Regions from separate parts of the Homo sapiens genome. Here all the other regions are linked to region 2. The links are contacts of gene promoters, found by promoter capture Hi-C in blood cells and fetal thymus (Javierre and others, 2016). All regions are on one chromosome and are shown on one strand. Each heading gives the region's core, a stretch centred on a gene start or on the middle of the fragment in contact. The rest is flanking DNA. Distances are from core to core; before and after follow the strand shown.

Region 1 (4,726 bases), core at 1,626-4,125, 330 kb after region 2:
CCTGTACCCACTGTAGGTGGTGCTTTGTATAGCCCTTCCCTCATGAACTTCTGTTGAAAGAGCTGGAAGGGTGGTCTTCCTCCTTCAGCCACGTCTGTTGAGTGAGCGAGTGAAATGGAAGGAGAGAAGCAGGCCCCATCTGTTCTCCACACTCACTAGTGTTACCTTCCGTGCTGCTCTGTGGCCACGTGGGCACTGACCTGAGGCATCACTTGGACTTCTGTGTGCTGTATATGTGCCAAGTACTGTGCCTTGCCTTTGACATATCATATCTCATTTAATCACCAGACATACTCGGTGAAGTCGCTATTTTTATCCTTTTTTTTTTTTGAGACGGAGTCTTGCTCTGTCGTCCGGGCTGGAATGCAATGGCGCGATCTCGACTCACTGCAACCTCTGCCTCCCAGGTTCAAGCGATTCTCCTGCCTCAGCCTCCTGAGTGGCTGGGATTACAGGCAGGTGCCACCACGCCCCACTAATTTTTCTATTTTTAGTAGAGACAGGTTTTCACCATGTTGGTCAGGCTGGTCTCAAACTCCCGACCTCGTGATCTGCCCACCTCAGCCTCCCAAAGTGCTGGGATTACAGGCATGACCCACTGCACCCAGCTTTTATCCTTATTTAACAGATACAGAAATCAAGGTTTGGAAAGACTGACTATCTTGCCCAAGGTCACACAGCTAATGAGTGGCAGGATCAAGATTGAGCCAAACCTGCATGGCATCAGGACGCCAGCTCTGAACCAACACCTAGAGCATCTCAAAGTTGGTCTGGGCCACCTGCTTTGTTTGCCTGGGGTGCTTGTTAAAAATTCAGATTCAAGTACCTCATTCTCTCAAGTATCTCATTCTCAGAGGTTATAATTCATTAGATGTGGGGTGGTGTTACTAAATCTGATTTTGCAAAAGCCCCTCACTCTGAAGTTTGATAACTGCCCTGTGTGCCTACCTCCTGCCTTTTTTTTTTTTTTTTTTTTTTTTTGAGACAGAGTCTTGTTCTGTTGCCCAGACTGGAGTGCAGTGGTGCTATCTTGGCTCACTGCTACCTCCGCCTCCCAAGTTCAAGTGATTCTCCTGCCTCAGCCTCCAGAGTAGCTAGGATTACAGGGGCGCACCACCACACCTGGCTAATTTTTGTATTTTTAGTAGAGATGGTGTTTCGCCACATTGGCCAGTCTGATCTGGAACTCCGGAACTCCTGACCTCAGGTGGCCTGCCCGCCTCAGCCTCCCAAAGTGCTGGGATTACAGGCGTGAGCCACCATGCCCAGCCCTGCATTTAAAAAACAAAACAAAACAAAAAAAACTTTTTTCTTGTGGTGAGCTATAGCTTATATACAAAAGTGTGCACAAAACCTACATGTACAGTTCAAAGAATAATTATAAAGTGAGCCCCCATATGACAACCACCCTGAGTTAAGAAGGAGAGCATTGCCAGGCAGTGCCTTACCAGCCTCCCTGGTCTCCCAACCCAGTCATGGTCCCTTCCCTCTCTTAGAGGTAACTCTTCTAAGGTAAAAGCTTGTGATCATCATTCCCTTGCTTTTCTGTAGTAACTTTTCCACCTATATGTCCATCCCTTGGCAATATGAGTTTAGCCCATTTGTGAATTTCCTACAAATGGACTTGCATTTTCCCAGCTCTGGTCTGTCTGCTTCTTCCACATTCTCTTTGAGATCCGTCCATGTTGACGTGTGTAGGGGTAGGCAGTCCATTTTTATTGCAGCTGGAGCCTTCTTTATAAAGCCTGCTTCTTCTGCTGATCCACATCCTTTAGAGTGCCTAGCACAGGGCTGAAAATGCAGCAGCTGCTCTGTAAAGACCTGTTGATTAGATTGGGGGGAGGAAATCCCCGAGAACGTGCGAGGCTGCTGTCGAGAGCTAGCAGAAAGTGCTCTGCCAGGCCTGGTGGCCCCCCAGGCATTCTACTTTTGTCTTTCTCTCCTCTGGATCTGGCTGTTGCATTTCTGTCGTGGACAATCTGAGATGTTTCCATCTCCCTGTAAAATTAATTCCCATTTCTGTGTCCCTTTTCAGAATGCCGAACTGGGGAGGAGGCAAGAAATGTGGGGTGTGTCAGAAGACGGTTTACTTTGCCGAAGAGGTTCAGTGCGAAGGCAACAGCTTCCATAAATCCTGCTTCCTGTGCAGTGAGTACGCCCCAGGCCCTATTGCTGTTGCCTTGGACACCCTGGACGGGCCTGCCCCCACAGGCTGGGCCTGTCAACACCCCAGGGAACTGATCCCATGGGATGTAAACAGCTTGACATTTGGCTGAAGCGCAGCTGGGCAGGGAAACACTTCAGGGCCTCTTTGTTCCGTTCAGAAGCTTCTTTCTAAGGGATGAACTGGCCAGAGCGGGTCGGGGTGGCAGGCGTTCAGGGGCTGAAAGCCAAGCTGTAAAGACTTGGTTAAGAAAACTTTCCACTCAGCTCTCTCTTCTCTCTCTCCCTGTCATGATTTCACCATTTCAGAGGAAAACACTTTCAGCCCTTTGCACCCTAATTATCTCTTGTTCAAAGGCAACAGAGGCCACAACCTCATGGTGAAGCTGAATCTGGAGGAAGAGTGGGGCTCCTCCTTCCTCAGCCCCTTGCAGGCTGGCCTGTTCAGTTCTTCACTTCCCATTCCCACTCAGCCTGGGATGAGAGGAAGAGGGAGTACAAAGTTCCCTGATATCTACTCCTAAGAAGCCAGAGCAAGGTTTGCTCCAGTCATAAGCCTAGATGAGTAAGAAATCAGACAAAAGAATACCAAGCAACTGACAGAGGTCAGGTCGACCCAGGGATCCTGACACCGTGATGCTGCACCCACTGGTACCTGGGCCAGGTGATGTTTCCAGGATGTGGCAACTTGGTGAAGCCTCTCCTCAGGTTCCTAAATGAGTTGGTTCATTGTGATCAGAGCAGAAGGTCTGGGTTAGAAGAAGAGGCAACTTCAGCAAGGTGCATTTTCTTTCTTAAGACAGAGTCTCACTCTGTCACCCAGGCTGGAGTGCAGTGTCTCACTGCAGCCTCCACCTCAAATGATCCTCTCACCTCAGCCTCCTGAGTAGCTAGGACTACACATGCATGCCACCATGCTCTGCCAATTTTTAAAAAAAATTTTTAGAGAGACAGGGTCTCCCTATATTACCCAGGGTGGCGTTGAGCTCCTGGGTTTAAGCAGTCTGCCCACCTCAGCCTCCCAAAGTGTTGGGATTACAGGTGTGAGCCACTGTGCCCGCCAAGGTACATTCCCCATGATGGTAGGCAGAATGGATGGTAGAAGAATGTCTTAGTTAAAAAAGATTCGGTGTTTATTATCTGTGTGATGATGGACAAGTTACTCAGTTTCTCTCTGGTTGAGTTTTCTCATTATTACGGAGGAGGTAATAATAGTTACCTCATGGGATTGTTGTGAGAATTAAAATGAAAGAAGCTTGTAAGACAAAGCACTTAAAATGATTATGAGTGTTGAAGAAATGATATGCACACACACATGCGCACACACGTGCACACGCACACACACACACGCACACTGCTGAGGGATCTGTAGCAAGATGGTGTGATACAAAGAAGCCCTCACCAGGGTCTGAGGCCCCTGAAGATGGGGAGATCCAAGAATGGGGTCCTGTCTGTTCTGCATTACACGAAGCAAAGTTTCATGATTTGTGCTCCAGAGTAGGATACAGATGGGCCAAGAGCCACCTGTTCAATGGACGTTTGCATCTCTGCCTGTCGCTAGGTAGACCCACCTGAGGCCACCCCGCACAGGGCAGCAGGGGCCCCACATCCTGCTCAGCCGGGCCTGGAGTGACAGCTCCAGGGCTGCGTCTGATGAATGGGGAGTAAACAAGGTTTAGTGGAGCTTTGTTGGCTTCCAGCCTGCAAAGGAGGCCAGAAACAGCAGCGTCTTGTTATCAGCAGTTCACTACTCTTAGGAATTTCCAAGCCGTTTATCTTTCCAGAGGGAATAAGAGAGAGCTTGGTGCTGGCTGGGAAGGGGGTCTAGGCTGCTGGGGTCCTAAGGGCCCCTCTCTTTGCTCTCAGATGTTGCTTAATCACTGACCATAAGGGGTCAGCTGTGGGCGGGGGTGCCTGCCTGCAGACCTGTTTACGGAGGAGTAGTCGGTCAGAGGGTTGAGGGAAGTCAGGAATTCAGGGGGTGGCATAGGAAGGAAGGAACAGGGCCTGGGGCAGGGTGTGAGGGGCGCTGCGGATGAGAAACAGTTGTAGAAAGTCAGGCTGGGGAGCAGGGCTCTTGGCGGGGTGCGGGGGTGTTATGCAATGAGCAGCCGCAGGAAGCAGTCTCAGGTCACGCTAGGGTCTCAGGGCCAGTGCAGCTATTGGATATCAGAGCACCAAGTGGACCCCCTAGCACTGCACATGTCCCAGCAGGCTGAGCCATCTCCACAACTTGCTCATTCATCATGCCTAACACAGCACCTGGCACAAAGTGGGTTCCTGACAAAGATTTGTTTATGAATGGAAGGCACATCATTTCTCTTTTCCAGTGAAGTGGGTGATAAGTGTTCACCCCATTCAGGGTGCCCACTGAATCAAAGGACTTTCCCTCCCGAGGAAGGGAGAGGCTAGCCAGGTCTGGGCCAAGGGCAGTAAGGGCCATCTCCCTCATTGGCCAGGCCTGGTTGGGTCCCCAAAAGCAGTTGTGACCATGTGGGTTCTTGGCTCCAGATTCTACTCAGCTTGCCCACCTACATGCCTGTATTAGTCTACTCTCATGCTG
Region 2 (4,444 bases), core at 608-3,107:
AAAAGATGAATAAAGTGAGGAATCAGAGTTTCAAAAAAGACCTCGAGAACTTTATAATTGACTTTGCCCAGATGAGACCATGGCATTTGGCTAAAGTTGAAAAGATCAGAGCAAAAGTGGAGTTGTTGTAAGACAGTTTAAATACAAGTCAAGGTCCACCTTTCATACAAAGGTGCCAGACATGCATTTGGAGCACCAGGAGCACTGGGTACCACTCAGGGAAGGTTTAGTTAAGATGAATTTGCACCAGACTCTCAAGTTTTATTCAGGTGACAACTTGAATGTGATGAGGTTCCTTTGCTTTGTCACTCTTCCTTCCTCATACTCAAGGGGGACAGACATTAATGTGCATAAACGAATTTTATTTAGAAGCCGCTAAAAATTCCTTTAGATTAGTTTATACATGGTTCTCAAACAGCTTTCTCCTAACCAGTGGTTTCTCCTGTATAGATCTGATATTTTATAAAACAATGACAATTACAAGTGGGCCTTCAAAATGGTCCTTAGCCTGTTAGATCCCAAATCTTAACATATTTCCAACAGAAGAAAATTTGTTTTCAACAGCTCTTTCATACTGTGAAAGAATGTAAACTAAATTTAAGAGAGATTTGTTCTAAATTCTTTTCAATAGAAATACGTCCAGTAGGAGAGCTAACTGAAGGTTTTGAATATGATGGGTGTGTGATGGGACAATTTCCCATATCTCTGATGAAGTATTTAAGTGGTGGTGGAAATATTCCTGAGTTGGGAGATTCTGAGGATTTGGAGTTCCAGTGAAGCTCTGACCAGATATATTTCTTACACAAAGACCAAGAAGATTTCTCCTCCTGTTTCTGGATTAAATTGTTCTTTGTGGTAGCTACACTGGACCCGGTGAAAGGCTCACGCGGCAGGAAATTGATAGAAAATCTCGAACCAATGGTTTATTTTCTTCTCCATCACTTTAAAGCACACAATAGAGGACGGAGACAAAGAATCAAAAACAAAGGATGATCAGTTCCTCCAAACAGAAATGCACAAAGGTATTTAATAAGGGCAAATTATTTTTAAAATAAACGTTAAGTATGGTCAGGACAGTGAAGCAATCGCATATGCATTTAATTTCTGGGAAAACACGAAGAGTACAAACAACTAGCTAGGTTTATAACTCAGAGGCAGAAACTTGTTTGATGACATCTATTAAGCTTTGATAGCCGCCTTTTCGAGGCCCTACCCTTCACCACTCCTACTAATAGCTCCCCCTACTCTTATCCCAGTACAATCCAGCTGGTGAAGAGAACAGCGAAAGACTTTGGTCCTGGACTCAAAAAATATTTCCCCGACCGCGCTACTTCCTCCAACAGCACCAAGTCTAGCTCCATCTCCGTCCCCTGCAGATTCTAGGCTCCATCTATCTTTTCAAGTCTCCACCCTCCCTCCCCCACTCCCAGGCTCCACCTCCCCCGACCCTATCCTTCAGGCGCGCCTCTCCTCTCTCGGACTTTCACAACCACCAGCGACATCAATCTCTCGCTTCCTGCTCCACTTCTCGGCGCCCACATCTCCAACTGGCTCAGGCTCCCCATGTCCCCAGCCGGTACGGAGCTGCGGTCAGCGGATTGTGCGGCTGAGCCATCCTCGTGACGGTCCCGCCTCACTCACCCTCCGTCACCTCCAGCACCTTAATCTGTTCTTCAGCAGCCGCCCGCACCTCCTGTACTGGGGATAGGATCCCGGTGAGCGTATCCACTAACGCTTCCTTTAATCCTTGTGCCACTGGACCCGGCAGCCCGGAGGCCGCACCAGCTGCCGCCGCCGCCGCCATCTTTTCTCCCCTCAGCCCGCCAGCCCCGCGGCCGGGACCCGCCACCGAATGACGGCCCCCGCGCGCGGCCAATCCGCGAAGCCGCGCCTGCGCACCAGAGGCGGGCGGGAGCGGGCGGAGGGCGGGGAATGAATCTAAGCCTCCAGAGACAGCGCCTCCTGCTGCCTGAACGAGAACTGCACCTTTCTCTGCAAGGATCTCTGGATTTGTGTGAAAACTGAGCCCCAGACAGGTTAAGGGGCTTTCCTAAAGTTGCACAGTAAGTTAGCAATCTCATTTGGAATAAAGTTCATGATATATGACTTTATATTCATGCATCTTTCAGGTGTTAGGAGAGAGGAGGCGGGATGGGAATAGATGTAGAGGGCTTTAAGGAGAGAGGTCTGGGTCACAAATAGCCCCTATTTTAAACCACATTCTTTTCCCCCCAAACACTGAAAAAAAGTTGGCTCAAGTGACTCTCTTCATCTTAGCCTCAGGAATCCAAAGAGGGGGGAAAATAAACTAAAGCAAACTGGGAAGTGGAAGTGGGAAAACCACGGCCCAGTCCCTTGGTTTTCCAGCCTAGATGAGCCCAACCTCAAAGCTGGGAAGTGGCTGGGCAGGGGAGACACCGGCATGTGAAAGGGAGTTTCTTCCAGAGTGAGTGTTGTATGTGACTATTTGAGAATGAATCCTATTTGTTGAAAATGTATAAATTTTTTTCCCTGAGAAATTATGGCTGGACATTTAAGGGGTGCGAGAACAAGAGCAGTTTGATGATATGGTTGTCAGCAGCTGGTCGTGGGAAATGGCCTACGGTGCAGAGCCGCTCCTGAATAGCGGAGCAGGTGGAGAGGATGAGCGCTCCAGTGAGGTGTTAAAAATGCAGGGTGTGGCGAGGCGCAGTGGCTCACGCCTCTAATCCTAGCACTTTGGGAGGCCGAGGCAGGAGGATCGCTTGAGCCCAGGATTTCGAGAACAGCCTGGGCAACATAGCGAGACTTCGTCTCTACAAAAAAATACAAAAATTGCCCAGGCGTGGTGGCGTACGCCCTGTAGTCCCGGCTGTTCGGGAGGTGGAGGTGGGAAGATCACTTGAGCCCAGGAGGAGGAGGCTGCAGTGAGCAGTGATTGCGCCATTGCACTCCAGCCTGGGCGACAGAGTGACATCTTGTCTCAGAAAAAGAAGAAAAAGCAAGATGTAAGCCAAGGCAGGAGGATCACTTGAGCCCAGGAGTTCCAGGCTGTAGTGTGCTGTCATCACACCTATGAATAGCTACTGCATTCCAGTCTGGGCAAGATATACAGACTCTGTCTATAAAAAAAAATAAAAATTAAAAAAAATGCAGGGCAGAGTGGCAAGCATGTAGTGGCAGAAAGGATAGAATGTTGTTGGAATGGGAGGTTCTAGAGCAAACAGAAACAGGTATTTTTTAGTGAGCTGTTCAGGTTATGTGCCTTCAAAATGGTTCCCAGGAACCCTTATCAAGTGAGTTCATTCTCACATGGCAAAGGAAACGAGTTACCAAATCCTAGGTCACTTCCAAGACTGTGGATGCTGGACTGGTAACAATCAGGGATTAAGTCATCTCATCAGAAGATTACTTCAAAAGAAAGCTTTCTCAATTATTTATTTTTGAGTTGGGGGGGTCTTGCTATGTTGCCCAGGCTGGACAGGTGATCCTCCCACCTCAGCATCCAGAGTAGCTAGAACTACAGGTACACCCACTGCAACTGGCTTGAAGAGAGTTCTCAACACACTTGTCACCTCCCATGTTAAGAGGGCAGAGATGAGTTATGTTACTACAATTTCATAGGGAAAAGATTGCTTCTTGGACCCTTCAATTTTGCAATGGGGAATAGTAAGCCTATTTACTTTCTTGAAGTGGCCAAAAGAAGTTGAACTTGATTACAACAGCTTCTAATAGGTCAGTTCACTTTTACCCCAAGAAGAAAATTTAGCAAAGTCAAGAGGGTGGTATGTTTTCAAACACTGCAGCAACCCAGATGGAGGACTCCGGAGCCTTGATGTTTGGGCTGGATGTTTTGAGATCCGGTGAAGGATTCTATGTCCATAATGTGCGAGCAGGGGTTCCTCCCACCCCCAACCATGGGAGTCAGGAGACTCTAGCTTAGGGTTTCAGGTTACTTCTGGGTTAGGCAAATGACCACAAGCAGTCTGGCCTTGCCAATCAAGGAATGGGCCACAAGATAAATGGAGACAGAAACCAGGCAGAGAGGGAGCTAGAGAACCAGTGGACAGTACAGGAGATAACTTTATTGAAACGCAAATGGCATTGAACAGATGAATCTTGCTGGGAGGAGACATGCCAGATGGACAGAGGGCCCAGATTGGGGGTGGCCTCAGTGGTGATGAAGGAAGGCCTCTTCAGCTGGCTCTGGCATGAATTTTATTTTTAAATAATTTGTTATTTAAAATGAATTACTGAGGGGACAGCCCGGCTCTCTCTTCATGATTGTTACCGCAACTATATACAACAGTTTGCTTTCCAGATTCAATTTCGCTTTTTCTACATTAGATATAAAAGGGGGTAGGTTGAAAGAGGGGAGGGTCAAATAAAAAACATAAACACACAGACATACACATATCCTGGTTTGGGATTTTGCACCCAATAACTTAAAAAAAAAGTGTTGCAA
Region 3 (5,093 bases), core at 2,463-4,962, 270 kb after region 2:
ACCCCAAACACCCCGGATGCAGGGTCACTGGGCTCTTGCCTGTTGGTCACCACACCAGGATGGCCAAGGCTAGACCACTAGTAGTTTGGGATCTTCAATGGGGCAAGTTGTTCTGGCCTGGCAGGAGGGATATGCTGATGGTGGAGGGGAAGCTGGCGCTGGCTAAGGGGTCCATAACCCAAAGGGAAGAAGATTCCATAAGAAGCAGCAGCCAGGCTGAAAAATTATTGACCTTTTGCTCTTGCCATCAAATAGCATTCTAGCCTGTCCCATACTCTATCACCCAAGATCCTTAATGGGTTTTACATCCTGAAAAAAATGAAAGTTACATGAGAGAAAGCAAGAATCTTGGTTTTTGTTGAGGAGGGGTGTGGTTTATAGAAGATGGAACCTAAATCAAGAATAGGAGAGTTTTTTGATACCACCCAGCAAGGCAGAGGCAAACACAACACAGAGAGACAGATACGGTTCTGCTCTTCCCATCCTCTGAACTTCCTCGGCCGCCCTACCCTGCCTGGCTTCCCGCACAGTGCAGGACTGCCCCAGCCTGAGCCTCTCACCCCAACTTTCTTCCAGTCTGAGAAGGAGGGGACACGTGCCTGTGGGACCTGCTTCCTTAGCCCACAAGATGCAGAGCTGCGAGCTGCCTGCATAGGAGAGGAGGGCGTGGGGATCGGGCTGGGTTCTGCTGGGCAACTGCACCCTCTGGTGGCGGCAACAGGAAGATGCAAGGCCATGCAGACAAAGGCCGAACCAGATTCTTCCTCCTTCCCAGAATCCCTCTACACCGCCTTTATTAAGCACCTATTGGCGGATGGCACGGGGTTCTGTCCAAAGAGAAGTGGATGGACACTGCACTGTTCTTAAGGGCTGCTAAATGAAACCTGCACAGGAGAAAGGAGGCTAATCCTTCCACAGCTCTGGGCTAACAGGCCTTCCCTTTCCTCACACTCCAGCTTCAGCGATCAGTGCTTCAATGGACAATTTTGCTGCCCTCTGCCCACATGCATGGCACCTCGACCATCATCTCGGACAAAGCTTCTCACCTCCATCAAAACCCTGCTCCCAGTCGTAACTCTAAGGACCCTCAGCCTCCCCCAACCTACAAGAGACTTAAAAGCAGCAACTGTTGGAAGAGCACTGTTCCTGGTGGTTTATGTGCGAGTCTCCAGTGTCAGATCCTCCAAGGGTGTGCTTCTGGTCTCTCCAAATGGATGGGGAGCTTCTCAAGGGCAGGAAACATTTATTGAGCATCTATTTCATAGCCAGGCCCTTTATAACCACAATTCATGGTAGCCTCTCGGCAGGCCCGTAAGGACCATAAATAACCCCCAATTTACAGAGGGGAAACGGGCTCCAGAAGGCCAAGAGCTATCAACAACCCCTTTCCATATGCCTGGCGCTATGCTAAAGGTGTTATACGCGTTATCTCCTTCAATCCTTGTGAACAAGGTTATCCAATGAGCTAGGTTAAAATTATTCCCATTTTACAGATGAAGGTGTTGGGGCTCAGAAAACGATACCCCATAATATGGCCTTTTGACATGCTGAACTAAAGAAGCAGACTCAAGGTACCTCTGACTTCCCCCACCCCAACTCCTGCCTCTCAATCATCCATCTTTCTCAAAGCACAGGATGAGACTATTCTCTGGAATTCTCTTATCTCCCTAGAAGCCAGACCCCAAAGAGGAACACAATTGCTTTTGATTCCTTCCCTGAAGTTTTATTAACCATAGAAGATTAAAATTCATATCACAGAGGAAGAGACTGAAAATTAAACACCACACCTGTGCCGGGCGCGGTGGCTCACGCCTGTAATCCCAGCACTTTGGGAGGCCGAGGCGGGTGGATCACGAGGTCAGGAGTTCAAGACCAGCCTGACCAACGTGGTGAGACCCCGTCTCTACCAAAAATACAAAAATTAGCCAGCGTGGTGGTGTGCGCCTGTAATCCCAGCTACTCAGGAGGCTGAGACAGGAGAATCGCTTGAACCCGCGAGGCAGATGTTGCAGTGAGCCGAGATTGTGCCACTGCACTCCAGCCTGGGCGACAGAGCAAGATTCCATCTCAAAACAAACAAACAAAAAACACCACACCTAGATCCCAGACAAATTTTGTCCCAAACCAGTGTTCGTTCTTTGGTTCCATTCAATTCCCAAAGAGAATGATTTACTAACCATTATCTGAGCACTGGGCTCATTCATTTCCCCGAAAAATCACTGCCTACTCTTCAAAATGGCCATATGGCCCGCATTTCCCCTTCCCCTATGTAGAAGGGTATATAAGCCTCTGGACCTCACTGGGTTATGGAGTGACCATTCTCCTGTGATTCCCATGAGCTTATGCACGTTAAATAAGTTTATCTGCCTTTTATCTACATATCGTCAGTTTATTTTCAGTGAAGTTTCAGAGGGTGGTGGGAAAGCTTTCCCTTGGCTCCTACAAAGCACGAAAACATTGAGGGGATAAATAATATGCACGAAGTCGCACAGCTAGGAAGAGGCAGCAGGATAGAAACCCAGTTCTGTTTCACCCTTATTCTTATCCCTGGTTTCTGTTTTTGTTTTTTGGAGTCCAGGCCTCCTCCTTTCTGCCCCTCCAAGCCCCTTGCGCAGGGTTCCATGCACAGCTCAGTCACCGCCCAGCACATAGATGGCTTCCTTTCCGCAGCCCCTGAGGAGTCCTTTCGTCCTTCTACAGCCAACTCCAGAAACTACATAGAGTGCTTTCTTCCTGTCTCTCTTCATCCCTTCCACTCCTATTGGAACAAAACCACGTTTGACATTTCTCAGCATTATTACATTAAACAGGCTGGATCTCAGCCAGCTATTTCTGGGCTTTAATTACTTGTTCTATCTAGCCTAAGTGGTGTGGGCAAGCCGGTCCTCAGTTAACCCACCTGAAAACTGGGAAGATCAGGAACTATCTCCTAGAATTTGATTACCAGCCAAGGACGGTGCTAATTTGGAGGTGGTAGTTAAGTGTTTTGGGGAGGCTGGGTGGTTTCTGACTTTAATTCTCTCTAAGACTAGCCCAGGGGAACCTCTGGGGCCACAGTGCAGCTTTGTAAGTGATCTCCCCATGGGGAGTAAATGTCCTGGAATCAAGCCCTAAGGCAGGCCCCTAATTCCTTGCATGTGTGATTGGGCACACAAGCCTCAGGACACGTCTGAAGGCTGTCCTGTGGGCTGTGCTGAAGGACATTGGACAAGCACATCCCCCAACCCTTTGTCTTTCTTCCAGAATCTCTTGCATTGTTTCACAAAAGGAGCAGCACAGAAGTTGAAATTCACCCAGGCACCTCAGAGGGCATTGGGCTCCTGCCTCAGGTACTAATTGCAATCCAATCTGGCTGAATGATTGGGGCTGAAATGTGGCATTTCACCATCACAGTTGGTGCCGTGGGAATGCATAGAAATCTTCAACTTGACACCAAACTGGACTTCCCTAGGGCTTCCTAAGAGAAACAGTAGATCATTTTCATCTCAGCCCCCTCCAAGCCTTAAGTGGGGGCCCTGTGGTCTGGCAGGATCATGGAGTCAGGGTTCCCGGGACCCTGGCTGACTCATCTTCCTCCTTTGCACCAGAGACGAGTCTACTGGTCTGAGCTTTTGCCTGAGATATTTGCCCGTAGAATTAAGCCCCTGTTTTTACAGGGGGAACACTAATGATTTTCTAGGGCTCTCCATTGAGAGGTCACTTGAGACCCGTTTTCCACACAGGCATTTGGAGGATGGTGCTCTTTGCTGGTGAGGAGAGGGGCATTTCTCCAGAGAGGGCCCCAAGGACTGGTGGCAAGCCTCTATGGAGGGGGCAGGGCTGGTCCTTAGACCTCTGCTGCTGGCCCAGGTTGGACTAAGGTTGGGGCTAGGACAGCAGAGGGGAAGAGTCCAAGTATTTTTCTCCCCTTGCCTGGAAGGCCCCCCAGTTCCCTCCCCTCCAACCCAGTCTTTGCCTGACTTAATTCCTGCAAGCCCAGGAGGAGGAATTCACCTCCCAAGAGGCCCTTCCTGCCCCTCCAGGGGTTACAGTCCCTCCACTGTCCCCCCACTGTCCTGAGCTATTACAACTGGGGTGTAATCACTGGTTTGCTTACCAGACCTTTTTTTTTTTTTCTTTTTTGAGACAGGGTCTTCCTCTGTCCCCCAGGCTGGAGTGCAGTGGTGCGATCTCAGCTCATTGCAACCTCTGCCTCCCAGGTTCAAGAAAGTCTCCTGCCTCAGCCTCCCGAGTAGCTGGGACTACAGACACCCACCACCATGCCCGACTAATTTTTTTATTTTTATTTTTTGTAGAGATGGGGACTCTGTATGTTGTCCAGGGTGGTCTCAAACTCCTGGGCTCAAACAATCTACCCACCTTGGCCTTCTAAAGTGACAGGCATGAGCCACTGCTCCAGGTCTCAGACTATTTTTTATAAAAGAGCGTTATACTGTTTGTCCTTAGCACCTAGGACAGTCCTAAGCTGTGGCTAATATCTAGTGAATGAATGAATGGATCAGTGAATTAATGAATGTGGCATTTTCAATCCCCACTTTCGGACCTGAAATCCTAAGTCTCCCAACTCAAATACCTCTTGGGCCTTTTCCACAGACTGTTCTCTTGGGGTTCCAGATAGGCCGACCTCAAGTAGTACCCCAGAAGCTGTTATTAAATCTGCCCCGCCCCCCGCCCCCCATCTCCCTTCACAGCACCTTTGCTCCAGCACCCGGGAACCCATCTGGCTCCCGAATCCCCACTGCCCCTCCCTTTTCTGGCCTCTCTTTCGGAAACACCTTTTTCCTGCCTCCATTAGGCCGCTGTGTTTCCTGCACAGGAAGAGGGCCTTTTGATTCCAGGGTGCTATTTATAGCAGCCCTCCCTCCTTCTGAGCCTCACTAAGGTAGGGGTGATGGCGCAGGGGATGGGGATAGAAGATGCTTGGGACTTTCCAGGGTCCCGGCCACCAGGAGAAGAGGGCTGAGTTCCCAAATGAGGGATGGAACCTAGAGGAAGCTTCTGATCCCCAGACTGGCTTACCCTCCTGACTTCCCCATATCTGTTAGTAGCTCCACAGCTCTCCCAGGCCCCCAGACTCAAAACCTCAGAGCTTC
Region 4 (4,538 bases), core at 1,347-3,846, 350 kb after region 2:
ACACCCAGTTAATTTTTTTGTATTTTTAGTTGAGACGGAGTTTCATTATGTTGGCCAGGCTGGTCTTGAACTCCTGACCTCAGGTGATCCACTTGCCTCAGCCTCCCAAAGTGCTGGGATTACAGGCGTGAGCCACCGTGCCTGGCCATCTGAGCAGACTTCTTTAATAGGCACGATGTAAGTTTTCATGTCCCTTTTCCCTGTTGTGGAGAGTGTGGAAGTAGGTGTGATGGAACCTCCAGCAACCTGGATATGTGTATATCTCAAGGAGCAGATATACCTCCCCTGCCAGCTCAAGTAGGACATATGGTATGAGTGGGAAGACCTTTGCTATGTTAAGCTATTGGGTTTGGGAGGAGTTTCTTAGCACAGCATAACCTAGCCCATCCTAACTAGTACACATACCAATATCACCTTAGATAGGCCGAGTCAAGTATGGAGACCATATTTCTACAAAGTCAGGATCGTAGCCTGTCAAAGATCTAATGCTTAACTCTGGGGTCTTCTTCAGTAGGAAGGAATATCTTCTTGCAAAAGTAGGGTGGGATTCCTAAAGATGTGAACTCTTCCTCCCCTTCTTTTGCTAGTCCCTGTTAAGTAGAGAACTCTGATTCACCCATTTGCCATTGTGTCCCTAAAGTCTAGCCCAGGGCCTGAATTAAGAATTAAGAATACTTAATTCTTAATTCACACACAATGGGATTTACTCTGAAGTTCCTTTCTATGAATCTTCCTGTAGATCACATCCAAGAATATGCCATGAGCCTTCCTCCCCTCCCTAAGCCCCTCCACACACCCCTCTGCCTTGAGCAATTTGTTAATTTCTCCTTGACCTAAGCCTCAGGCTGGACAACTCACAGCCTCCTTCTCTGCCTGATCTTGACAATGGCACTGCATAGGAGCTTCCCTGTTATCAAAGTCATACTCACGAATAATAATCTTTATAACTCTCATGATGAAACATTTGAAAATCAGAGGCAAGTGGTAAAAAACTCATCCATGATCTCCTCACCTCGAAGGAACTGCTGTTGACACTGTGACCTTTCCTTTCCTATTTTCCTCTGTGCATTCCCCCTCCCCCCATACTTTTAGGGAGAGCCTATGAATGTCTCCTATTTAGGAGGAGAGGGAAAAGCCACCCACAAATGCAGAAAATGGCACAGCTGGAAGGGGACTTACGAATCCTTCAACCAACTCCCTTACATTACCATTGAGAATGCTGCTTTATACTAGTCTGGGTGCAGATGTGTGAAAAGTAAAAACAAATATCTGGCAAGACCCAAACCAAGCTAAGTGATTGTTGTCTCTGGGGTTGGGGGACTAGAAGGGTGGTGAAAAGATACTGTCATGTTTTGAATCTTTTGCAACAAAAATGTATTCAAGTGTTACTTGCATTTAAAGCACATTATTACTAGAAGAAAAGAGAAAGCAACTTTTATGTCAAGGGTTTCATGGCTATTATTGGCATATTGGTTGAGGCCACTAGTTTCCTGGGTATCAGTCAGTCTCCTCCTAGTGTCATTGCCCCTTGGTCAAGTGTCCTCAAGGAAGAGATTCATTCCAGGGCAGCCCATTTTTTCCTACAACATGGGCACCCAGATGCCAAGATGGCATGGGAAAAAGGAAAATTCTGCAGGCCCCAACCTGAACCATTAGCCCACAAGTCCAATCTCTGTAAGACCCACGCTGGGATCAAATGCCTTCAAGCCCAGACTCAGCCCCATCAGAGGGGGCAGTAGGTGCTCTCAAGACGAAAGGGATTCTTGGTGAATCAGGAAAGTTATTGGGCTGGAAAGTGATTAAAGGGCTGAGCGTGGGAGGGGATTTCCACTGAGAGAGCCAGGCCCAGGAGCAAGCCTGGGCGGGTCGGCTGCAGAGTTGCTGCCCACTTGAAGTCTGTCGCAATGGTGCCCATAAAACCCAAGTCATCAGAGACTTGAAACCTTGGTAGGGTTTTTCCTTCTGTTTCCCTTTAGAAAAACAGAGATCCGAGGAAACCCCAAAGTCCTGGAACAAAGGGCTGTACATCAAAGCGGTGCGAGCAGGTCAGGAGAAGTCTGAGGGAGAGGTCAGCTGGAGTGGGTCTCCCAGCCCCCAGCTCCCAGGGAGAGGAGAGCAGTGAGGGACCTGTGGATTGGAGGGTGGGTGCAGAAGCCTGAAGGGAGAAGCAGGGTGGGGAGGAGCAGGGCTGTGAACAGACCCATTTTCATGCCCCATCTAGGTGAGGAGGCACTACCTGGCCTGAGGAATCCAGGGAACAGGTTGAGGAAGGAGTAGTGATGTTTTCTTTTCTTGCCTATACAGGGGTTACATAGCTCCCATAAACTAGCCAGGCTTTTTTTTTTTTTTCAAATATGCACTGAATCTGCAAGATAGAACTTGACAGCCTTCATTTTACAGATGAGGAAACTGAGGTCAGAGAGAGGAAGTGATTGTGTAAGGTGTCACCAAGCTTAGGCTAGGACATGGGTGTCCTGTCTCCTACCTGAGTGCTCCTTCCCCTACACCAGTGGTTCTCACACGTGGGCGTCAGAATCACCTGGAGGGCTTGTTCAAACACGGATTGCTGGGCTCCAAACCCGGGTCTGGGGTGGAGCCTAGAATTTGTATTTCTAACAAGTTCCCAGCTGATGCTGACTCTGCTGGCCTGAGACTACATTTTGAGAACCGCTGCTCTAGACCCTTGCTATCTAAAGTATGTTCTGTTGACTAGCAGCATCAGTGTTACTTGGAAGCTTCTAGAAGTGCAGAATCTCAGGTCCTACCCTAGACCTATTCCATCAGAATCTGCATTTGCAAGATCCCCAGGTGATCCATTTGCACACTGCAGTCTGAGAAGCGCTGGTCTATGCCACACACCTCTTTCTGGACTGGGGGTCAAATTGAGGCAGCCTAGATGAGCCTTCCAACTCCAGTTGCCAGGGGATAATGGAATAGGTGCCCAGGGTCCTGTGGGGGAACCAGCCCCTTTTTTGTGTTCCCCAAGGTTGGGGAGTTCTCTCCAGAACTACAGAGACAGGAGGGGCTGCATGCTCAGCTCTGGGTTTGCTCGGTTCTAGTGTACACACCCGACATCAGGAGGCTCTATGTGCCCACCTTGGGGAATCCTGGGAATGCCTGGAGGCCAATAACTGCCATTCAAGCCTCTAAATCAACCCCTGCTCTGAAGCCAGCCCTTGCGTTTGAAATTCTATTTCAAGAACTTATGTAATACCTATGTGTTTATTTTATTTTAAAAATATGCCTAATACATGAGTATGACATCCAAACCATATTGAAGCATGCTCATAAAATGACAGGCATTCTCACACTGCCCATCCCCATCCTGGACATTCCATAAGTAACATATCACTGTGAATTGAATCCTGTTAGATATAACCTGTACAACAGAGGTGGACTTTGTTCATTGTGGCCATGCTATATACCTTATTAACTCACTGTACTGTAATGTTTCCCCATGAAACAACGTATTTCAGGCATCTCAACCTACTAAGACCTGTAGATCTGTGTATTTTCAACTGCTGCACCGCATGAACATTTATGTACTGTGCAGTTAACTAGATTTTTAGAGAAGCAATGCATGCACAGGATTTAAAAAAATCAAACAATACAGATTGGTGAACAATGAAAAAATAAGTCTCTATCTTTCTTCTTCATTGTTACCTAGAGAAACTGTTAACAATTTATTTTAAATTTTTATTTACTTTTCTAAACAGGGTCTTGCTCTGTTGCCCAGGCTGGAGTGCACTGGTGTGATCATAGCTCACTGTAGCCTCAAACTCCTGGGCTCAAGCCATCCTCCCACCTCAGACTCCTGAGTAGCTGGGACTACAGGCATGTACCCCACTATGGCTATATTTAAAAAATGATTTTGGAGAAACAAGATCTTACTATGTTGCCTAGGCTGGTCTCAGACTCCTGGGCTCAAGCGATCCTCATGCCTTAGCCTCCTAAGGTGCTGAGATTACAGGCAAACCATTTATTTTTGGTATTTAATTAAAATACTTAATTTTTGTAATAGTTTTGGATGTATAGTAAATTTGAGCAGATAGAACAGAGTTCCTGCATACCTACCCTTCCCCCATAGTTTCTCCTATTATTAACATCTTGCATTAATGTGCTACATTTTTTACAATGAATGAGCCAAGATTCATACATTTACTATTAACTGAAGTTCATGGTTTAAACTCACTCTTGTTGTATGGTTCTGCAGGCTTTGATAGATGCATAACGTCACGTATCCACCATTATAGTATCATACAAAATAGTCTTGCTGCCCTAAAAATCTCCTTTAACCATCTAGTGGTTTCCATTGTTTTAAATAATGCAGTTACATTCTTTTCATTAGTTCATTAACTCTAGATTGCATTGATTGTTTCCCCTCCTCTGCATTATCCTTTTCCACCTCCCAGTTTTTGTCAGGTACATTGTCATTTCATTTTCTCATTCGATAATTATTCATTCAGTTCCTACAGTGTATTAGGCAATGTTCTAGGTGCTGGAGCCACAGGGGTAAAAAAAACAGATAGGCTGGACGC
Region 5 (4,773 bases), core at 1,165-3,664, 300 kb after region 2:
AGCAGAAGTGGGATTATCAAACAGAAAGCATCAGCTCATATTCCCAACCCCGCCCCACCTCCCCACCCCAGTCAAATTCACTGTGGTTATGGGCTCAGTGCTTGAAAACCCATTTTTCAGTGATAGAAATCTGACTGGCCACTAAAAATCCTTGTCCTTTCTAGCTTGATTCATTAACCAGTGAGGGGTTTCCTAGGCTAGTGGAATGGGGTTGGACATGGGCAAAACAGGCATCTCCATCCTTGGCCACTCGGGCCTCATGACTGGCCCTGGGCCCCCTTTAAGAAGGGCCCTCTGTGTTGACTGTTGGAGCTTACAGGGACCTGGGAGAAAGAGTCCATGGGGAAAAGCTGTCAGAGTAATGAATGTTTTACGAGAGTGAGCGAGTCACTGCCTTATCGGGAAGATGCTGTTTCTCACTCTCTCTCTGTTACCAGGAAGTGAGATGTACTGAAAGCCATCGTGGTGTTTTTCCAAAGATGGCCTTTGAAGAGGAGGTGTTTCTTTAAGGGGCCCAGGAGAATAGGGGTTGGGTTTGCAGGGAGAAAACCTGCCCCTTTAAGAAGCCTGGTTCTGGCTGTGGCAATCCTGTGGTATGGAAGATAATAATAGTCCCTACTTATATAGCATTTGCTGTGTGCCAACTGCTATGCTAAGCATTTAACATATATTAACCCATTTAATCTCCACAACAACCCTATGAAATCTGTACCACTTTTTATCTCCACTTTACAGGTAAAGAAATTGAGGTCAAGTGTCTTGTCTGGGTCTCAGCTAGTAAGTGATAGAGGTAGGATTTGAACTGAAGGAGTCTGGCTCCTGAGTCCATGTTTTCAAATACTACATATATGCAGAGGAAAGGAGTCTTGATAGTCTCCATAGCAGTGTGGAGAGCTTGATCATGTACTAGTTCAGCACATTTCTTTATTTCTTTTCAACAGCTTTATTGAGGTACAATTTACATATTATAAAATTCACCCACTCGAAATATACAACTCTAAATCTACAGAGTTCTGCAGCCATGACCAGAACCAAGTTTTAGAACATTTCCACCACCCCAAAAAGCTACCTTGTTCCCCATGCATGTTTTAAACTGAGTCTCAATTTTCTCAACTGTAAAATGGGAATAACAGTGCCTGCCTCATACGGTTGTTATGAGCATTAAATCAACATGTAAATGGCATAAGGTAATGGTCAACAAATGTTATCTATTATTATTACAGTCTCTTAGAGTCACTTAAATACAGACTTTTAGAGCTGGAAGTGGGAATGGTCTTAAAGACAATCTAATCAAACTCTCTCCTTTAACAGATAAAGAGATAACAGTGCCAAGATGTTAAGCAACTTGCCAATTAAGGACACAGTAAATTTAGTGGCAGAGCTGGGAATGAAACCCGGGTTTCTTGGTTGGTACTTCAGTCCTCTCTTATCTCCTGAGAGACTTTCCACTCGAGGCACAGGAATATCATTGTCCAATACCCCCTTCACCCCCCATCTTTGCCATCTTTGTGGGTGCCTCCAGAGCAATGCTGACTGGCAGGCATGGACCCTGGGACTTTGCTTGTGCTGGAATACATAGAGCTCTGGCTTTGGAGCAGGGAATGTGGCTGAGGAATGTTGGGTGCAGAATCAGGGGACCAGATCCAATGTGGAGGCTGAGACAGGAATGTCCATTGTCAGAACACGGAATGCATTAACTAAAAGAATCCAGGACACAGCCAGTCCAACGGTCAGCTAGTCTCTGCAGAGCCAGCTTCATGGGCATATGACCTGTGCAGTCACACGGGGGCTCAAGCTTAGAAAGGCCCCCTGCTTGGTTTAATGCTTTGTTGTTGCCATCTTGAAATTCACAATGATTTTTAACAAGAAATGTCACATTTTTATTTTGCACTGGATCTTGTAAATTATGTAGCTGGTTTTGCCCATGTGATAGCAGAGCTGCAGCCAGACTCTTAAGGCCCTAGCAAGGAATAGTGTCTCTCCACCCAGAACTTACTCACATGTAAACTCTATGTATAATACACAGTCATAGAGTCTTAATACCGAGCATTAGAAGAATCAAAGCCTGGGCAACATATGGAGAACCTGTCTCTACAAAAAATTTTATTAAAATATTAGCCAGACATGGTGGCACATGCCTGTTGTCTCAACTACTCAGGAGGCTGAGATAGGAGGATGGCTTGAGCCTGGGAGGTGGAGGGCGCAGTGAGCCATGATTGTGCCATTGCACTCCAGCCTGGGCAACAAAGTGAGACCCTGTCTGAAAACAAACAGAGAATAAAAGTTGTGAAACAATTTGCACATTATGATCCAATTTATGATGAAAGATGCCCCATTAAAGTATATCTTTCTATATGTACATATGCTTGTATGAAAGTATATTTTTTTAAGGTCTGGAAAAACACTTCAAACTGGCAGTCATCAAGGGAGTCATTAACTTTTTCTGTGTGTTTGAGTTTGTTTTTTACAAGGAGAATCTATTCATGTATTACATACATAATTATTAAAAAAGTGTAAGATACTCCTAATACATTCTGTAAGCATTTTCCTATATCAATAAATAGTCAGTAAATAGTCTTAAAATGCCAAGAAAAGGTGTCTTGAGAGGGGAAAGCAGAAGTAGGTGTCAAGAGGGACCCTGGAGAGTGGTAGACAGGGGCAAAGACTATTTCAGGCCATGACAGGGCCTGAGGGGAACAGGCTTGGATGTGAGGAAGGGAATACCGGGTGGGGGAACCCAGAGGTAGCTGGTGAGAGGGTGGGTGCTAGGTGTCAGCTCCGTTCAGATTTAGAGGCTGCGATGTCCACTTTGGTGAGGGTAGGGGAGGATGATAGGAGCTGGAAAAGGATGAATTGCCAAATACGACTGGAGGTAAAGGCTGTAGAGGTGAATCCAGCTGTGGTGAGAAATGGATGAGGTGGAGGTAGGCAGGTGATTCCCTGCAAGGGAGAAAGAATGGGGCTCAGATGTTGGATTTAACAGAGAATGGGAGATTTGAGGCAGTGTGGCCCAGTGGTCAGAGTGCAAGCTTTGGAGTCAGGACGGCAATCAAATCCCAGATTCACTGCATCCTAACTGTGTAACCTTGAATTCTCCTCTGGGAAACAGAAATGATCTTGATAATAGCTATGCAGTAGGGTTGCTGGGAAGATTTGATAAGATGATGGAGGTAAAGCATTGCATCCAGTGGCTGGCACAGACCCCCAAATCTTCCCCTTTTCTCTTTAATTGATTTTGTGGTTTGAGGCTCTTAAATGGCAAGAAATCATTTGCATGAATAAAGAGCCATTCTTCCAAGCACTTCCCTCCTAGTTTTCTGGGAGAGCCACTGGAAGCCAGGATTCAGAGTTCCATCCTGCAAAAGCTGAGCTGAGCTAGCCAGGAAGGAGGAGGAGCTGACTGTGGCCCAAGGGCTGGGAAGCAAGGCAGAAGGGGAGAATCCAGCCCTAATTCCCACGCTGCTGGTGCCAGTGAGGCTGACTGTGGGAAAACCTTGTCAGGGGTCACACTTTGGGATCTCTAGGAGCAAGGTGCTCTGTGAATGCTTATCTCAGATTCTCTCCACCCCTGGCCCTTTCAGTGCCCCCAGCCCAACTCCGGGGAGAGTATGAGTGACTGACAGGCCCTGCTGCAGCTGCAGCCTCCTCACTGTGGGTACAGATGTGCTCAGCAGCAGCTGTGACACGGAGCCCACACCTGTTCCCTAGATCAGCTGCTGTAACTGTACTCCTGGGAAAGCAGGCCAGGTGCTCAGGCCTTGCCAAAGCCAGGTCAGAAAGCAGGTGGAAAGTCGGGCATCTGCCTGTCATAGCAGCGGTGGAGGCTGCCTGGAAGGTCATGAGGCCCTGGGAGTCTCAGCTACAGACTGGGCTCCTCTTCCAGCCCACGCTTGTCCCCAGCTGTACGCCTCCCACAGGCCCTCTGTGGTTTCCTGACCCCCTCCCTGGGCACCACCACATTGGGGTGGGAGAGACTGAGGAGCTAGGAAGGAGGCGGGGAGTCTTGAATGGGATGCCTCTGGCCATCTGTTATTCTGGGCCTGTAAGCTGTAAAGTCAGGGGACTTGTCCTGGGAGGTGGGGGTGCCCTGGAGCTGAGCAGCAACAAGGACCGGAGGAGTCAAAGAGAACTGAGGCAGGGAGAGGCCAAGGATGAGGGTGCGTCTGGAAATGAGAGCAGGAGAGCCTCTTGCGTGGCTTTGGCTGTGGAGACCTTCGTTCCGGAGACTCTGGGCTGCCACGGGAGAATTCCACTAAGCATGTGTCGGGGGCAGGCCCGGGCAGGCGGCCGTGGGAGCGCTGCACACACTCTGCTCCAGGCCTTGGCCAGCTAAAGTGCCGCTCTGGGAGAGCCTGGATACCGGGTGAATCCAGAAATCCCAGGTCCCTGGGAAAATTTCAACAAGGCAACTCTGACACGCGTCCTCTGACACCCAGACCGACACAATATATTGCTCACGCCAATACACATAAAAACCTCCCGATAGAAAACCAGATGGTGAGTTGGCATTGCTGATGTCTGGATTCTACACCCACACCCCACATAGTGCTTATAAAGAACACACCCTCCACTCATCCAGCCCACCCCACTTTCAGGGAGAGGAATCTTGAGCCTGCGATGCTCATAATGATGCTAACGCCTCAATGGAACGGTGCTCGCCAATTTCCCCAGTATCTCTGACAGTGCCGTGCCAGAAGAAACAGCACATGTGGCAAGCAGCTCCCGGCCAGATGTGGGACACTGCTGACCCCTGCTGGCGCTTTTCTCTCCACG
Region 6 (5,045 bases), core at 2,153-4,652, 410 kb after region 2:
TAGGAGACCTAACCCCTCACCCTGTGGCCTCTCCTCGAGGGGCCTCGATTTCCTCACGGGCACATGGATTGGACTGGACGGTCTTCCTGCTCTGGCGTCCTGCAATGCTCTCGGCAAGATCAGAGCTGGCTTTCTGGAAGGCCAGGCCCTGGTGGGGCTGGATTGTGGCCCACTCTTCCTCAGGGCTGCCTTGCTGTGAAACCTGGGCTGGTTTGTTTCACTGACCCTCCCAGGTCACTGTTTTCCTGACTGGTCCTAAGCACAGCCGGAACCATGAAGTCCAGGGCCCATCAAGGCACCGAAGAATGTATTAGTTTCTCATTGCTGCTGTGGCAAGTCAGCACAAATAACCCAAGTTTATTATCTTACAGTTCTGGAGGGCAGAAGTCTGAAGTCAGTCTCCCTGGGCTGCAAGGCAAGGTGGTGGGAGGCCTGCTTCCCCCTGCAGGCTCTAGGGGAGAAGCCGTTCCCTGGCCTTTTTTGGCTTCTAGAGGCTGCCTGCATTCCTTGGCTCATGGCCTCCCTCCATGATCAAGGCCAGCAGCATAGCATCTTTTCTGACATCTGCTTCCTTCATCGCATTTCCTTCTCTCAGCCTTGCTCCTCAAGCCTCACTCAGCTGAGAAGGACACTTGTGTTTAGATGGGGCCCACCAAGATAATCCAGGATAATCTCCCCATCTCAAGTGTCTTAATGTAATCACATCTGCAAAATCCCTTTGCCATATAAGGTAACAGATTCACATTTGCATTAGGGCACGGGCACCTGTGGGGACCATTATTCAGCCTAGCGCAAAGGGTGCTGCCTGGGGATCTCCAGGGCCAGGAGCACTCTCTCTGGCTCTGTGTCTAGGAAGGGTCCTCCCTGACCAGTAAGCATCTGAGTCAGACAGAACCTCAGCTCTGGGACAGCTGTGCCTGCTCTGCAGGGAGAATAGGAAGCCTGGCCCCAGGGCAGATGTGCACTGAGAAGGGGTGACCTTTTCTGTAGGCAAGGAGGGGAGGAGAAAGGCTGCAGAGGCGCACTTGGCTGGGGCAGTGAGTGGGCCACAGGGCTAAGACCTCCAGTGGCGGCCCCTCAGCTGGGTGTGGGCGGCCTGAATCATTGAGGCCTGCTCTGCACCCACTCCATACATGAAGGAAGATGGGGGTCAGGGGCAAGGACAACAGGGCACTGCATTCTTGCTTTTGAAGGCCACCTTTGAGAGACTGCAGGAGAGAGACGCTAAAGAAGTCAGTGTGTGAACTGGGGTCAAAGGTCAGGGTGGATCTGAGAGGGTGAGCTGGAGGCTGGATTCCACATGGTGTGCAGGGATGGTGGGGATGGAATTGGGACACTGGGGTGAGGGGTCCTGGTCCCATGCTGTCCAACAGAGTGTGAAGATGAATCACTCCGAGTCTGAGATTCTCCATGGCTCCTGCCCAGGGAGGGCCCCTGGCTGCACTATGTTCTCCACGTCTTGCTGCGGACATCCGGCCACCTACTTTCTTGGCTTTTGTTCACCCTGCTTTGTTCTTCTATTTGTCGAACTGTCTTCTTTTGTTTTTCCTTTTCAAAAAGCAGGATAATTCATGCAGAGAATTCATTTTTTGAGAATATCAAGGCCTTTTAAGAAAGTTATTGTATAGGCTGGTCATGGTAGCTCATGTCTGTAATCCCAGCACTTTGGGAGGCCGAGGCAGGTGCGTTGCTCAAGGCCAAGAGTTTGAGACTAGCCTGACCAACATGGTAAAACCCCATCTCTACTAAAAATATAAAAAATAGCCAGGCATGGTGGCGTGCCTGTAGTCCCAGCTACTCAGGAGGCTGAGGCAGGAGAATCACTTGAACCCGGGAGGTGGAGGTTGCAGTGAGCCACTGTACTCCAGCCTGGGTGACAGAGCCCCTGTACTCCAGCCTGGGTGACAGAGTGAGACTCTGTCTCCAAAAGTATATAAATAAATAAATAAATAAATGGAAAGTTATTGTATAAATTATAATAAGCCAAGGCAATAAACTCCAGTAGGCTCATCTGCAAAGCCCCTAAATTCCTTCTCCCCTCTAGCTGCTCCTTTTGGCTGGAGCCTGCCTTCATTATCCATCACAGCCTCTCCACTTGGAATCCTATGTCCCCAACCCCTATGCCTCCCCAGACCCTGTCATTTCTCCCTGGCAGCCGTCTCACATAGAGGCTTCTCAAAGTTGACCCGACCAGAACAGAATTAGAGCAACCTCTATTAGGCAGCAGAATGTCGTTGTAGAGAGGGCAGGGCCTTTACCTCTGTGGGCACTGGGGTGTGTCTCCTTAGGACACCCCTGCCCATTACTCTCTCCTTCTCCAAATGGGGAGCATGGCTGGGGCTCCCTAACCTCCTGCTTGCGAGGCCTCTCTCTGGCCTCTGAGAGGGTCAGTGTCCTGCCCCAACCCATGAGATGACAGACTATAATAGCCACAGGATTAACATAGCAGGCATTGTCTTTCTCTGACTATAGGGTGGGTATTATGTGTTCATCAACCATCCTAAAAATACCCGGTAAACAGGTGCAGCCCCTGTGGCTCCAGTCCCCTGGGATCTGTTGGCTTCTGGCTGGAGATGAAGATTAGGGCAGAGGAGAGGTGAATTAGTCTCACTGAGTTCCAGGCATGAGACTCGGGTGTCCTTTGGAACCTGGGAAATCTAGATTCCAGGAAACCCATCTGGAGGGGGATGCAGAGTGTCTGCAGACCCTCAGACCTCCCTGAGCATAAAGGTGTGCCCTGCTGCCACTGCCATTCTGCTCAGCCCTGGAAACACTCACTGGGGTCAGCCTGCAACACTGCTCACATCACTCCCCACAGCCAGGCACCCTCGTATCCCACGTGCACCAGAGCCACTGAAAAATCCCTGAAAGCTGAGTCTTTAGCCCTCTTGGGCTTTTGGGGCATGGGTTCAGGGGCCTCATTTCCATATTGCCTTATAAGAGATGCAGGGTTAGCCCAATGGTCCTCTTCCCCCAGCTGCTACTTGCCCCTCTGGGCCTTCACTGTGGCCCTTTGCTCTCCCTCATTCCCCCTCCCAGTCCCATCTCTGCTCAGTCCCCACACCTGGTCTGGCTGCTCATTCTTTCCCTTTCTGCAGCTCGAGTCTCCCCAGGTGGGTGCTGGTTTCACTCAGTTGGTGGCACCTATGTGCACAGAATTTGCCTCTGCTCCTGAGCCACAAATTCACATGGCTTTCCGCCTATGTGCCTGTTGTGTGCATTGCAGCACGCATCTGCCCTGTGAGGTGTGTGTGTGTGTGTGTGTGTGTGTGTGTGTGTGTGTGTGTGTGAAGGGTGGGAGGGAGGAGGGGCAGCAGGAGGGGGCAGTGGGTCTGTTCTATTTTTACCAGCCAGTTGCTGCTGGACACAGTTTTCATAGCCTCCCCTCGGCTCTGCCCCTCACAGTCTGCAGTCTACGGCGAGGCACAGGCCAGCCCAGCTCCACGAGGACTGAACAAGGTAAGCGTCTGCAGCCCAGAACTTCAGATGTAGGTTGATCCCAGGCAGAGAACCTGGGGCTTTTGTTTAAGGAGAAAGCGAGGTCTTGGAGCTGGAGAAAACCATTTCTTGCCTGTGCAGTTGGTTTGTTGGTAGAACATTCCTAAAATACTCCCACAGCATTTTGTCCCACAGAATGGCATCTCTCCTGCAAAACTGTTGTGAGAGGTGAAACTTTTTCCTGGCCATTTGGAGGCTGTGAGCAAGGAGCAGAATCTTCCGTGAGGTTCCTTAGGAGCCCCAGGGCAGAGCCTAAGGGATGATGTTTTCACACAGGATGCCCAGCAGAGTGTGGGAGGGAGAGCGCACCCAGGGGAAGGGGTGGCCCTGGGATCAGAGAGCCAGGGTGAGTGCTCAAAGTCAGCAATGCCTGCAGCGGAAGAGAAGGAGGGTGCCTGACGCGCAGGACTCCCAGGGAGCCTAGAAGGCAGGGCCAGAGCTCCCTGCTGGCCAAGGAAACCATCTTGCTTCTGTGTTCTTTGTCTCTGAGCGACGCTGTTAGCTCCCTTTGCCTATCCCTCTGTAGTGTAGCACAAGAGCAGAGGAGGGCAGACCGGCAACCCCTCTTGACTGCTCCTGCTCAGAGCTCCTGGCTCTGAGAAGCAGCAGTAGATACTGGGGGTCCTCTTGGAGGAAGGCAATGGTGGCGGCATTTTGGGTTGGGGCACAGGAGCCAGTGAACACATAAGCCAGGGCAGTATCTACAGGGTAACCCAAGGCTTGGGGCAGGGGGCCGTGTGGCGGTCCCTGACTCAGGTGGGGGCTGAAGGCAGCACCTGCCACCAGGTTTGGGAGTCACAGTCCCACAGCAGCTCTGAGATTAGGCTTTGCTGTTCAGAACTCAAGATGGGGGCAGCCCAGCGCCATGCACTTGGGAGTGTTAACCGTCAGTCAAGGAAGACAGGGATGCCCTTGAATGGGGGTCCAAGGTCAGGGGGCGGGGAGCAGGGGGAAGCACATGAGCCTAACTAGATACTTGTGGACGTGATCATTGGGTGTGCAAAGAGATCAGTTCTTTCCCCTACATATACACGCTCTCTCTCTCACACTCACACTCTCACACACAGTCACTTACACACACTTACACACACAGACTCAATCTCATAGTCTAGCGGATAGTCCCTTCCACGCTGCAAAGCCTCAAGGAAGGGAAAGCCCAGCTCTGAGGCAACCACCAGAGACTCTTTGCTCCCCCCCTCGGGGGGAGGATTTTCTCATTATCTCCTTGCTTGCTACTTGTAGAGGAGATGGAATCCTGGCTCTCCAAGCCTTCCAGTGGCTGCTATCTTCATCCTGACTTATCAGTCCTCGCTTGTCTTCCACAGAGCCTGGCAAGGGCCCCCGTCTGAGGGGTGTCAGAGCACAGGCTGAGGCCTCTTGCCTGACGTGGGACCCCTTGGTCTGGCATTTGTCAGTGAGGCAGGCTGGGGGCAGGCCCCGGAGCTTGGCAGGAGGTGTAAACCGGCCTTGGAAGGTAGGGCCCCACAATGGGGACAGTTGGATCTCTGAGGGAGACAGGGAGGCATGATCACTGCCAAATGCCCACC

Evidence for each region. Contacts are between HindIII fragments. The CHiCAGO score rates a contact against its expected background, and 5 or more counts as called.
Region 1: a contact is called between a fragment that was not itself captured here and the fragment with the promoter of IPO9 in region 2, in 4 of 17 cell types (M1 macrophages, endothelial precursors, erythroblasts and 1 more). The highest score is 7.4, in M1 macrophages.
Region 3: a contact is called between a fragment that was not itself captured here and the fragment with the promoter of IPO9 in region 2, in 7 of 17 cell types (endothelial precursors, monocytes, M2 macrophages and 4 more). The highest score is 13.2, in endothelial precursors.
Region 4: a contact is called between a fragment that was not itself captured here and the fragment with the promoter of IPO9 in region 2, in 1 of 17 cell types (monocytes). The highest score is 5.7, in monocytes.
Region 5: a contact is called between a fragment that was not itself captured here and the fragment with the promoter of IPO9 in region 2, in 7 of 17 cell types (endothelial precursors, monocytes, M1 macrophages and 4 more). The highest score is 10.8, in endothelial precursors.
Region 6: a contact is called between the fragment with the promoter of TNNI1 here and the fragment with the promoter of IPO9 in region 2, in 7 of 17 cell types (M0 macrophages, M1 macrophages, erythroblasts and 4 more). The highest score is 15.4, in M0 macrophages.

What each region holds. Positions count from the first base shown.
Region 1 is chr1:201,493,614-201,498,339 of GRCh38, reverse strand. CSRP1 (cysteine and glycine rich protein 1) reads left to right here. Exons shown (of 6, transcript NM_004078.3): 2 at 2,036-2,148. The coding sequence starts at 2,037. Among named protein-coding and RNA genes, the nearest start is that of CSRP1, 11 kb to the left of the region's middle. The HindIII fragment of the contact is 1,091 bases long and covers 2,330-3,420 here.
Region 2 is chr1:201,826,570-201,831,013 of GRCh38, reverse strand. It overlaps IPO9 (importin 9), which reads right to left and starts at 1,857. Exons shown (of 24, transcript NM_018085.5): 1 at 1,642-1,857. The coding sequence starts at 1,804. IPO9-AS1 (IPO9 antisense RNA 1) reads left to right here and starts at 1,455. Exons shown (of 3, transcript NR_046696.1): 1 at 1,455-2,063. It overlaps NAV1 (neuron navigator 1), which reads right to left. Exons shown (of 34, transcript NM_001389617.1): 34 at 4,045-4,444. RefSeq lists enhancers at 1,558-1,767, 1,779-2,073, 2,230-2,743, 2,744-3,258 and a silencer at 1,818-2,057. The HindIII fragment of the contact is 2,219 bases long and covers 1,187-3,405 here.
Region 3 is chr1:201,555,447-201,560,539 of GRCh38, reverse strand. All of the region lies in intron 1 of NAV1 (neuron navigator 1), which reads right to left. Among named protein-coding and RNA genes, the nearest start is that of NAV1, 19 kb to the right of the region's middle. The HindIII fragment of the contact is 2,570 bases long and covers 2,428-4,997 here.
Region 4 is chr1:201,474,087-201,478,624 of GRCh38, reverse strand. No RefSeq gene overlaps it. Among named protein-coding and RNA genes, the nearest start is that of PHLDA3, 7.2 kb to the right of the region's middle. The HindIII fragment of the contact is 283 bases long and covers 2,455-2,737 here.
Region 5 is chr1:201,530,911-201,535,683 of GRCh38, reverse strand. It overlaps CSRP1-AS1 (CSRP1 antisense RNA 1), which reads right to left. Exons shown (of 2, transcript NR_160747.1): 2 at 900-2,260. All of the region lies in intron 1 of LOC124904484 (a long non-coding RNA gene), which reads left to right. Among named protein-coding and RNA genes, the nearest start is that of NAV1, 5.8 kb to the left of the region's middle. The HindIII fragment of the contact is 1,234 bases long and covers 1,798-3,031 here.
Region 6 is chr1:201,420,087-201,425,131 of GRCh38, reverse strand. TNNI1 (troponin I1, slow skeletal type) reads left to right here and starts at 3,402. Exons shown (of 9, transcript NM_003281.4): 1 at 3,402-3,459. The HindIII fragment of the contact is 15,457 bases long and covers 1-5,045 here.